Linked DNA regions of Homo sapiens: region 2 is linked to region 1. The links are contacts of gene promoters, found by promoter capture Hi-C in blood cells and fetal thymus (Javierre and others, 2016). All regions are on one chromosome and are shown on one strand. The core of a region is centred on a gene start or on the middle of the fragment in contact, and the rest is flanking DNA. Distances in the headings are between cores, read along the strand shown.

The links. Contacts are between HindIII fragments. The CHiCAGO score rates a contact against its expected background, and 5 or more counts as called.
Region 2: a fragment that was not itself captured here is called in contact with the fragment with the promoter of TMEM158 in region 1 in 4 of 17 cell types (megakaryocytes, M2 macrophages, M1 macrophages and 1 more); the score reaches 8.3 in megakaryocytes.

Annotation. Positions count from the first base shown.
Region 1 is chr3:45,223,149-45,228,632 of GRCh38, reverse strand. It overlaps TMEM158 (transmembrane protein 158), which reads left to right and starts at 2,346. Exons shown (of 1, transcript NM_015444.3): 1 at 2,346-4,167. The coding sequence starts at 2,606. The coding sequence ends at 3,508. RefSeq lists silencers at 2,100-2,439, 2,450-2,519. The HindIII fragment of the contact is 4,918 bases long and covers 1,250-5,484 here.
Region 2 is chr3:45,522,947-45,528,430 of GRCh38, reverse strand. It overlaps LARS2 (leucyl-tRNA synthetase 2, mitochondrial), which reads right to left. Exons shown (of 22, transcript NM_015340.4): 20 at 4,323-4,434. Among named protein-coding and RNA genes, the nearest start is that of LARS2-AS1, 16 kb to the right of the region's middle. The HindIII fragment of the contact is 840 bases long and covers 2,709-3,548 here.

The DNA.
Region 1 (5,484 bases), core at 1,097-3,596:
TTTGAGACCAGCCTGGCCAACATGGTGAAACCCCGTCTCTACTAAAAATACAAAAATTAGCCAGACGTGGTGGCGCATGCTTGTAGTCCCAGCTACTCAGGACGCTGAGGCAGGAGAATGGCTTGATCCTGAGAGGCGGAGGTTGTAGTGAGCCGAGATCGAACCACTGCAGTCCAGCTTGGGTGACACAGCAAGACTCTATCTCAAAAAAACAAACAAACAAAAATGTATTTACTGAGCCTCTACCCTGAGCTAGGTGCTTTTCCCGTTGCTGGGAACAGTAGTAAACAAGATAGAAAATAACTTCCTCGCTATCTTCTGTTCTCAAATTCCAAAAAGATAGCAAATCAATCTAGAAAGTAGGATCTGTGTTACTATTTGAAGGGTAATTACATTCTGAATGAGGGCGAGGTGACGGAGTCCTCAGGACGGCACCTGCTGGAAAAGTGGGCAGAATGCAGGTTGCTAGGATGCAGAGCTTCAGTGGCGCAACTTTGCAGGGAACTGCTTGGCTCCCCAAATAGATCTCTTGTCTTTTCCCTTTGCTGCTGCCTTCCCCCCTGCACAGACAAAGCCAGGAGTGTCTCAGGAAAGCTCAGGAAGCCTCTGCCTCTGACTGAAACCCCAGAGAATGTCATCTGCAGTCACAGGCAACAGCCTGGCTCAAAACGCACCCCTTGAAGATTAGGCCTCCCTCAGCCCTCAGGATCACTTGATATTCCTGTTCTTCAGGGTTCACCAGACACATGGCTTAAATTAAAACTGTTCTGCCACATCACTGAGCAGCTTCTGTTCCTGATATGCAAAGGTTGAAAGGAGAAGTCATTTTTATTAAAAGCAGGAAAATTCACATTGTTCTCCCTGGTAGCACCACTTCCAAGCACAAAAGTGATGGAGGCTGAAACGAAAAGGGAGTCCCATCCCCTTGGGGAAATGAACCATTTCTGTAGAAACCAAGGACCACTCTAGGCAGCCAACTTGGGCAGCACTGTTAGTAACCACATCACAGCAACCACCATGTGGGAACATCTGGGGACAGATAGACACTGGGTTGGGAGTATTATCACAGCAGCCCTGTGAGGAGGTACCACCCACCCCCCAACTCAGATGGGGAAACCAAGGCTAAGTCAGAATAATGGCTTGCTTAGATGGCAAGAGGTGGAATAAGTTGGGGAGCTTTATTTTGAGGCGTTTTTGCAACTTTCTCAGTCCCATTTTACTCATTGTTAGAAAACAATGGACAAAAGCTTCCAGAAAAGTAATCAGCCAGGATGCCTAGCAATGTAGCTGGACTCTTGGCAGACCTCTCAGGATTAGCTGGTTTAGAAGGAAGGCGGTTTTGTTGAGGCCTTTCTCTGCTCCCTCCACCCCTCCCCTCTCCGAATCAGGAATACTTGGTGCTCATGGAGTACAAGGGCTTCCAACTAAAATAAAATAGATAATAATTCAACATAAATGTCCCCTAAAGAACGATGGGAATGATGAAGGGTCGTTGAAGTTTGTTTCCAAGTGTGAGGGGCCGAACTACTAAGAAAGTGCTTTTCAATATAAATGTGATAAATCTGATCTCTTGACACGTTATTCTTGGTAGCCCTCCTCCCGTATAATATCCCAAAGGGGATGAACTGCCCCTTTGACGTGGGTTCTAACCTACAACTGTTTCATGAACACGCGCTCACTCGACCTGTCAGGACCTGTGTCCTCGGGACCCCCAGGCGGCACAGCTTCAGGGCTCACATTCCCCCCAGCCAGTCACTCTCCACTCGAAACTCCACAGAGTTCTTGGAATTTTCCTCGCTTGCTGCGAGGAGAATCCCAAGTGAGTCTGCTGTGTTGGAGCCATTAAAAAGCAGCCAAACTCTACAGATTTGAGGTAAGAGACACCGTAAAAAGGCAGAAAGAGCTAGTGGCGCGGACTTGTTTCTGGCTCATGAGTTGGCCTAGCGAGGCCCTTTCCCCTCTCTCGACCTCAGTTTCCCCTTCTGTAAAACAAAGGAGGTTCGGTAGCACTAAGGCGAGACAGCGAAGCTCCCCTCAGGCCTGACAAAAGGATGGTCTCCGGGCCCTGGAGCCTCCCTCTGAGAACGCGATTCACCCGGAGCGCGGGGGCGCCCGGGCGCGTCCGCAGGCTTCCCCGCCCGCCCGCACGCACCCCGGGCGATCCGCTCTCCGCCGCGCCCCCGCACCCAGCCCCGCCCCGGCGATTCCTCTCCCAGCCCCGGCGCGTGGAACCCCGCCCTCCCCTGAGTCCCCGAGCCTGGCGAGCGGAGGGCGGGGCGGGGCGGGGCACGCGGGAGGCGGAGCCGAGCCGGGGAATCCTGCTCTGGGATAGCACCCGGCCCCGCAGAGCAGCGCGGCAGCCCAAGGGCCCCGGCGCCGGGGGCGGCGGGGAACCCCAAACGCAACCGGGTCTGGAGGGATCCCCGCGCCGAGCCAGCCGCCGTCACCGCCTCCGCGCCGCCCCTGCGGGCTTGGCAGGCGCCCGGCGCGCCCGCACTGCGCCCGGCCGCCGGCTCCCGCGGTCCCACCGTGAGCTCGCCGGCCCGTCGCCCGCTCGCCATGCAACCGCCGCCGGCCTCGCGCGCGTAGGCGCCCGCCGCAGGCCATGCTGCCCCTGCTCGCCGCGCTCCTGGCCGCCGCCTGCCCGCTGCCGCCCGTCCGCGGCGGGGCCGCGGACGCGCCCGGCCTCCTCGGGGTGCCCTCCAATGCTTCAGTCAACGCGTCCTCCGCGGACGAGCCCATCGCCCCGCGGCTGCTGGCCTCGGCGGCCCCCGGGCCCCCCGAGCGCCCGGGCCCGGAGGAGGCGGCGGCGGCGGCGGCGCCGTGCAACATCAGCGTGCAGCGGCAGATGCTGAGCTCGCTGCTCGTGCGCTGGGGCCGCCCGCGGGGCTTCCAGTGCGACCTACTGCTCTTCTCCACCAACGCGCACGGCCGCGCTTTCTTCGCCGCCGCCTTCCACCGCGTCGGGCCGCCGCTGCTCATCGAGCACCTGGGGCTGGCGGCGGGCGGCGCGCAGCAGGACCTGCGCCTCTGCGTGGGCTGCGGCTGGGTGCGCGGTCGCCGCACCGGCCGCCTCCGGCCCGCCGCCGCCCCCAGCGCCGCCGCCGCCACCGCCGGGGCGCCCACCGCGCTGCCAGCCTACCCCGCGGCCGAGCCGCCCGGGCCGCTGTGGCTGCAGGGCGAGCCGCTGCATTTCTGCTGCCTAGACTTCAGCCTGGAGGAGCTGCAGGGCGAGCCGGGCTGGCGGCTGAACCGTAAGCCCATTGAGTCCACGCTGGTGGCCTGCTTCATGACCCTGGTCATCGTGGTGTGGAGCGTGGCCGCCCTCATCTGGCCGGTGCCCATCATCGCCGGCTTCCTGCCCAACGGCATGGAACAGCGCCGGACCACCGCCAGCACCACCGCAGCCACCCCCGCCGCAGTGCCCGCAGGGACCACCGCAGCCGCCGCCGCCGCCGCCGCTGCCGCCGCCGCCGCGGCCGTCACTTCGGGGGTGGCGACCAAGTGACCCGCTCCGCTCCTCCCTGTGTCCGTCCTGTGTCCGCGCGCGCGGGTGCCTTTCCCGCCGGAGACTCGGCCGGTGTGCTTCGTGCTGTAGTTATCGTTAGTTCCTCTTCCCGAGATGGGGCCGCCGAGAGACCCCAGCGCCTTTGAAAAGCAAGGTTTGTGCTGCGCTTCCAGTTCCGAAAAGCAGATGTTTAAGCCCTTGGACTGAGGGTGGGATCGCAGCTCCGAAGACGGAGAGGAGGGAAATGGGGCCCTTTCCCCTCTATTGCATCCCCCTGCCCGACTCCTTCCCCGCACCCACGTGCCCTAGATTCATGGCAGAAAATGACCAAATCCTGTGTATTTGTTTTATATATTTAATAACTGTTTTAAATGAAAGTTTTAGTAAAAAAAATACAAAACAAAAAGATTAAATTGCTATTGCTGTAGTAAGAGAAGCTCTTTGTATCTGAACATAGTTGTATTTGAAATTTGTGGTTTTTTAATTTATTTAAAATTGGGGGGAGGGCATGGGAAGGATTTAACACCGATATATTGTTACCGCTGAAAATGAACTTTATGAACCTTTTCCAAGTTGATCTATCCAGTGACGTGGCCTGGTGGGCGTTTCTTCTTGTACTTATGTGGTTTTTTGGCTTTTAATACAGACATTTTCCTCCAGAGATGTGTATGTAGCTTTTTCTTTATTTGATTTGGGAAAGGGAATCCCAGAATTGCAAGACGTTACCCTAAAACCTGAGCAAGGGAATCTCGGAAAAGTTAGAGAAGGGCTACTTCTGTCTCCTTTACCTGGCTGTGAGAGATAGATGGAAACAGTATTATTTGCCCTGATGGCGATTGTCTTGCATCTCACCACACTGACCCTCAGTTCCCATCCACCCCCCACCTGTCACGGTGGCAAACACAGTTTTATATGATTTAACTTTTTGCTCATTGTTCTAAGCTCTGCAAAACACCCAGGCAAGCATCAAAATGGTAAAATCAATAGTTCCTCTGAGCTGGATGGCTTTCACGAAAATGACTCACTTTAAAAGGCATGTAGATTTCTTTTCATATGCATGAACTTTAGCAGATAAGCACATTCCAAAAGCTGGTATTAAAACCTGAGATATTATTTTGGCATTTAGATTTTTTAAAAAGATAAACTCTTGGGGGATAAATAGTTAATGATCACAAGATTTTCCTCACTCTTGGTTTCCATGTTACAGTGTCTGCTGTGTAGTAGTTTCAAATTCTTCCAGGTTTTCAGAAGAATAAGTAAAAAGTCCTTAAAGAGACTTAATATTAAAAATTATTTTAAAAGCGTTTTTAAGAGACTTTGAAAGCTGCTTTCCCTTGCTCCATCTCGTCCTCATTTTGCAAGCATATCTGAGATTGGTCTAGAGCTATAGTTCTCAAAGCCTGGTCCCTGGACCAGCAACATCAGCATCACCTGGGAACTTGGAGATGCAAAACTTGGGCTCCACCCAGGACCTATAGAATCCGAAACTCTGGGATAAAGCCTAGCAATCTGTGTTCTCACATGCCCTCCAAGGCATTCCTATGCATTACCAGTTTGAGAACTGCTCTGCTGTGTTCTAGTGGAATGGAACCCTCAAATGTAGGTTGTCTCCTTTTATCTTGAGATGTCTATTATATCAAATAAATGGGATGCTTATTTTCCCAGCAATCTGGCTGAAGGAGAGGCTGGGTCATTGCCCTGCAGCTTCAGCTGCCCCTTTGACTCTTTGAGGTCCTGAGATATCTGTAGCAGGTACCAGCCCCTGAGAGGGGAGAGGGTGGAGTATTGATCTTTGTAGGTTGTAAGCATCACCATTTTTTAACCCTGTGGTAACTGGCAGGAGAAAAGTCAATAATTTTGCTAACCTTGATCAATTTAATGTAATCATAGCATTTATAACTCTGGAGACACATTATGTATTCTTTGTACACACATGTAATCACTCTCCCTGCTTTTTTCCAAGATGTATACCATGG
Region 2 (5,484 bases), core at 1,879-4,378, 300 kb before region 1:
CATGACAAAACACAACACAACACAGACAAGTGGACACAAAATACAATACACATAGGTAAGTGAACACAATCATTTTACTTTTTCTATGTTTTGTGAGACAGGCTCTTGCTCTGTCAGCCAGGCTGGAGTACAGTGGCATGATTATGGCTCACTGCAGCCGTGAACTCCTGGGCTCAAGTGATCCTCCCACCTCAGCCTCCCGAGTAGCTGAGCCTACAGACACATGCCACCACATCCAGATAATTTTAAAATTTTTTGTAGAGATGGGGTCTCCCTATGTTGCCCAAGCTGGTCTTGAACTCTTGGGCTCAAGTGATCCTCCTGCCTGGGCCTTCCAAAGTGCTGGGATTACAAGCGTGAGCCACTGCACCCAGCCACCATATCCACTGCAATGATCTGCGCTAAGATGCTGATGGTGGCTGTTTATTTCTAGAGGGTGATGGTTAGGGGATTTTTATTCTCAGTCCTTATCATCTGGGAACTGGTCTGACAATTATAGCTAGGCCTCAGTGTTATAAGAAATTCACCAGTTGTGCATAGCTAGGCCATATTATTCTCCTGTTCAACACAAATGATCTCACTGAACACCAACATCAGACAGTCACACTGAAAACATAAAAGGAGACCAAAACAAGACCATGTCATAATTTTGTCAAAGCACAAAGACAAGGTCACTGTGAAACACACAAAATATCAAACATCCCCTTCTCTAGGCAGATATGAGGGACTGCTATTTCTTTACTAATTACAACTTTATCCTTGCTCAGGTGTATCTCCCTAAAGATAAGATTTCTTTTTTTTTTTTTTGAGACGGAGTCTCGCTCTGTCGCCCAGGCTGGAGTGCAGTGGTGTGATCTCGGCTCACTGCAAGCTCCACCTCCTGGGTTCATGCCATTCTCCTGCCTCAGCCTCTCGAGTAGCTGGGACTACAGGTGCCCGCCACCATGCCAGGCTAATTTTTTGTATATTTAGTAGAGACGGGGTTTCACCATGTTGGCCAGGATGGTCTCGATCTCTTGACCTCATGATCCACCTGCCTCGGCCTCCCAAAGTGTTGGGATTACAGGCGTGAGCCACCGCGCCCGGCAAGATAAGATTTCTTAAGATACCCAATCACAAAACTGTCCCCACTTACTGACAGCACTCAATCCAGAGCAAATCCTCACTTCCTGAGACCCTTCCCCAAATTATTCTACCAAAGCCCAAATTCATTATATAACAGGTCCTTCCTAGCACCCTCTGAGATGCCCAGTGTTTCCCCCGGTAATAAACCCAAATTGTTATCTGAAGGTGTGTTCCTGGTGGTCTCTGGCTGGAGGATGCTGATAGAATTGCAGGTTCATGGAATTTCAACTGAGACTCTCACTACCTTTGACTGGAACCTTTGACTCAGAAACAGTGCATGCATCTGAGACCCACTTGTGTCTCTACCTGGATGAGGTGCCACTCACCCTTGGCTGGGAACTACGTTCATGCTGAATTGAACTCCAGGATTTCACTGAAGATTTTACTGTTGCATTTATCTTATTTTCTTAAGAATAGGTCCCATTTTGGACATTTGGTTTTTTGATCAGAATTCTATTGTTCTTTGGTGAAAATGTTTTCTAGTAACTAACATCTGCTGGCCTAATGCCCTATCTATCTGCTTGTGTACTATCTTGAATGTTGTTTGTCCACTGGGAGAGGATGGGAATAGGTCCCATAAATTTGTCCTTGAGCTAGCCCTAAGGGTGAAGTGGTAAAGTGGTCAGTCAGTTACTTCTTGGAGACACGCTGTGCCCGAGTCACCATTGCAAAATCTCATAATGACTTCTCCCTCAGTCTTGTTCTTGTGTTCCTGAGAACTGCTTTTATGTTAGTTTTGTCTACCGATAAGCAGGAGGCTTTGTCTGGCTCCTGATCAATGATGACTTGACTTTGATCAAGCACCAAGATGCAAAATTCCACAAGCAGCAACCCATGGATATGTTGCGGCTCATGTCTTGGTCTTTTCAATCTAAAACTGCCTCCTCCACCACAAGCACAGGCTTTCTTTATGTTTTCTAATTACAGCCCTAACTCCTGTGCATATCTTTTTAAGTGCCACAAATTTCCAAAGACAATTTGGAATGACAGTGATCCCTTTGGGGAACTTTTGATAGGAACAAAATTGTTCATTTGAGAGGTTCCTTAGAACAAAAAGGATAAAACAATTCTGATTATCCAATGGTATGATTTCTTTAATTGTATAAAGAGGTTTCTAACATAAATCGGACTCAAAAATTGTCTCCCTTAAAGATTCAAAATGTGAGAAACTTAAAAACTGTCTCCCCTGTAGATCCACTGAAAACACATTTCAGTTTTTCCCATCTTTCCTCACCTCCTTCGTCTTTACGTTTAAAATCTTGCTCAACTCATGAAGTCCTTATAATTGCCTTCTCCTCCTCCTCTCTCTTTCCCCTCCTACTTTAAATCAGTTGCACTACCTCATTGTCACTTAAAATTGCAACCCCTATGAAAGAGGCATCTGACACTGACTGGTAGCTAGTATTTAAGCTATGTGGTTGTGTTTAGCTCTGCATGCTATTATTAAGGACTTCCCGAATTCCAGAATGGAAAGACAGGAATTAATATAGAATTCAGACTTATCTTGGGTACACTCAACCCAGGCCTCTCTGACTTCTTCCAACTAAGCCACCTGTTGGAGGGGGCCAGGAGTTGCAAAAGCTTGGTTTAAAAAGGGTAACTAAAAGAGTAACTGGAAAGACCCAGAAGATGACTTAAGACACAATGAAATACACTTGTACTCAATCAGGATGTCTTAAAGCATATAAAGTAGGGCAGAATCTGTTGGGAGCTACACCACATCTCTTTCCTGCTAAAGTAAACTGGACCTTGATTCAGTCTTGCAAGCAGCAAAGAATGAACCAAAGGAAACTTCAGAGTCAGACCCATCCAAATCCTTACCCAGGTTTTAGGATTAGTTCCTGATTTCCAAAGCCCTTTCCACTTTTTTGGTTGATGCTTAAAGTCAGAAACTGTAGATATGGTACATAAACAAAAAACTGGCTGGCAAATCCTCCCACTACGTGAACTTCAATATTTGGCTGAACAAGTTTAATTTTAAAGTGGCTTTAGATATCAAAAAGGATAAAAATCCAAACTAAGCTCATGGGTTTACAATGAAAGCGAAATAAAACAGATTCGCTTTTCCTCAAGGAATGAAAAACACTTCCTTTTGACAGAGACACTTATACTGTAAAAAAGGGGACCCTGGAAAAATAAGTCTCATCTTAGCTAAAAAGAAAAAGGAACCACTGCTCCTCCTGAGGAATTAAGAAGCAACTCTGAGGGAGATGGTAGGGCCCAATTCCCAATGAGTCCCTCAAATCAACAAGGAGTACTATGTTTTAAAGTAGAAGGCAATAAACAAGGCTTTGTGAGAGACACAGGCAATACTCTGTCAACTATAAATCCTACTGTAATTTCCACCTATTTCCTGTAGGCATAAAGTTGCTTGGGTGGTGGGAATTTCAAATAATCCTCAAATTCTTCTTATCACTCAAGCTTACACTGAGACTCGTGGTTTGCTCAACTAAACAACATGCATTTCTTCTCTGTGACACCACATCAGTAAATTTAATTAGGAGAGATCTTTTTTTTAGAAGAAATCTTTTACGTCAACGAAACTGCCAAGTCACATGCATTTCAGATGACCTATTTCTAGAAACATCTGAAGACTTTCCCATGCATGCATGATCTTTCAGGAGCTCAATTACATGTCACTTTGCCCCTCCCTATATGCTTGGCCTAATCCCAGTTCGATGATTATGTGAAGTCCTGGTTTTGTCCAGGCTAACAGTCCCAATGATGTGGAGGGTTCTAGGGGCTGAAATTCAAGCAGGCAGTCAGGCCTGCTTTGATGCCTAGATTAGGAATAATTGGTGAAGAGTGCTGAATTACAGTGTAAGTTTAGACCTATAACTTAATTTCCACCTGTACAGTGGTATTAAACATGAGTTTTTATCTTAAAAAGACCACGCAGGTCATAATATGTGGATACTGGGGGGCTGAGTCACGAGAAGGGATTAAGATGGTAACATCAACACCCACATTAGTCTGGGCACATTATTCAAAGCAGGGAAGTGTCTTTCCTTTTGGTAGGGGTGACCATGTGGATGAAGTACTACCATTCAGAGTACAGGACAGAGAGGTTGCTGAGTATAGATGCCAAATGTTGGACCCTATATCTGAGGACATCTGAGTCCCGAATGATGTTCAAAAAGAGGCTTCGACAAATTCTAGTTAGTAGTAACTGGTCAAAAAAGGACTCTGCCACGTACCTGCCCAGATCTCTGAGGTTACATGAGGGGCCAGTGGAGCAGCCATTACCATCAGGGCACACAAAGCATCCTCAAACTCGGGGCTGTGGAGAATGACGCTCTGAGAGGCTTGCTAAGGAAGAGGAAAAAAAAGTAAGAAGACTGAGGTGTAAAAATAAGCACGGGTAAGAAAGACCATTAATGTATCTGAAGTCCAGAGACACAAGCTGGTAGGAAGAAACCCCCTTTGCCATCCATTTCTGCTTGGGACAATGAACTTCCCCTACTTAATGATAGCACTGAGATAAACTACAGCAAGCCAGGTGTGGTAGCTGACACTTATACTCCCACTACTTTGGGAGGCCAAGAATTTGAGACCAGCCTGGGCACTATAGTGAGACCTCATCTCTATGAAAAATTAAAAAATAAAAAAAAATTAGCCAGGCACAGTTGCACACACCTATAGTCCCAGTTACTTAGGAGGCTGAAGTGGGAGGATCACTTAAGACCAGGAGGTCAAGGCTGCAGTGAGCTATGACTGCACCACTGCACTGAAGCTTGGGCAACAGTGAGACCCTATCTTTAAAAAAAAAAAAAAGCTCCAGCAGCAGCAACAACAAATACATGATGTTAACTTATTTAGTCCTCACCACTCTTTGAGGGTGGTATTCTTACCCCATTGGACAGATGAAGCAGCTAAGGATCAGCAAGGGAGGGCAATCTGCCCCCAGGCACACTGTAGCCAAACTCTTACCCACTCTGCTAGGTTTCCTCTGTGCTGCAGGTCCACAGAGAAATGCACTGAGACCTGCTCAAAGGTGTTAAACTGTGAAACACCTAGGGCAGGGGGGCCTCTATACCCTACTTAGGGACCCCTATTCTCTGAAATACCTTTGGTCAATTCCGGCAAACATAGTTGTGTTTAGCTCTGTGTGTTATTATTAAGGACTTCCCAAATTCCGGAATGGAAAGACAGAAATTCATTACAGTTTCATTTCAGTGTCTTGCTTTATTTTTTCTGATTAAAAAACTAACACACACTCAGCACAGAATATACAGGAAATGAAAAACTACTCATAATTATACAACCTAGAAAAAAAGGTATATTTTATCCTTGTCTCCAAAAATGCAAAAATGTGTATATAAATGCTTATTACACATGTAACATTTTCAGGATTGGTAT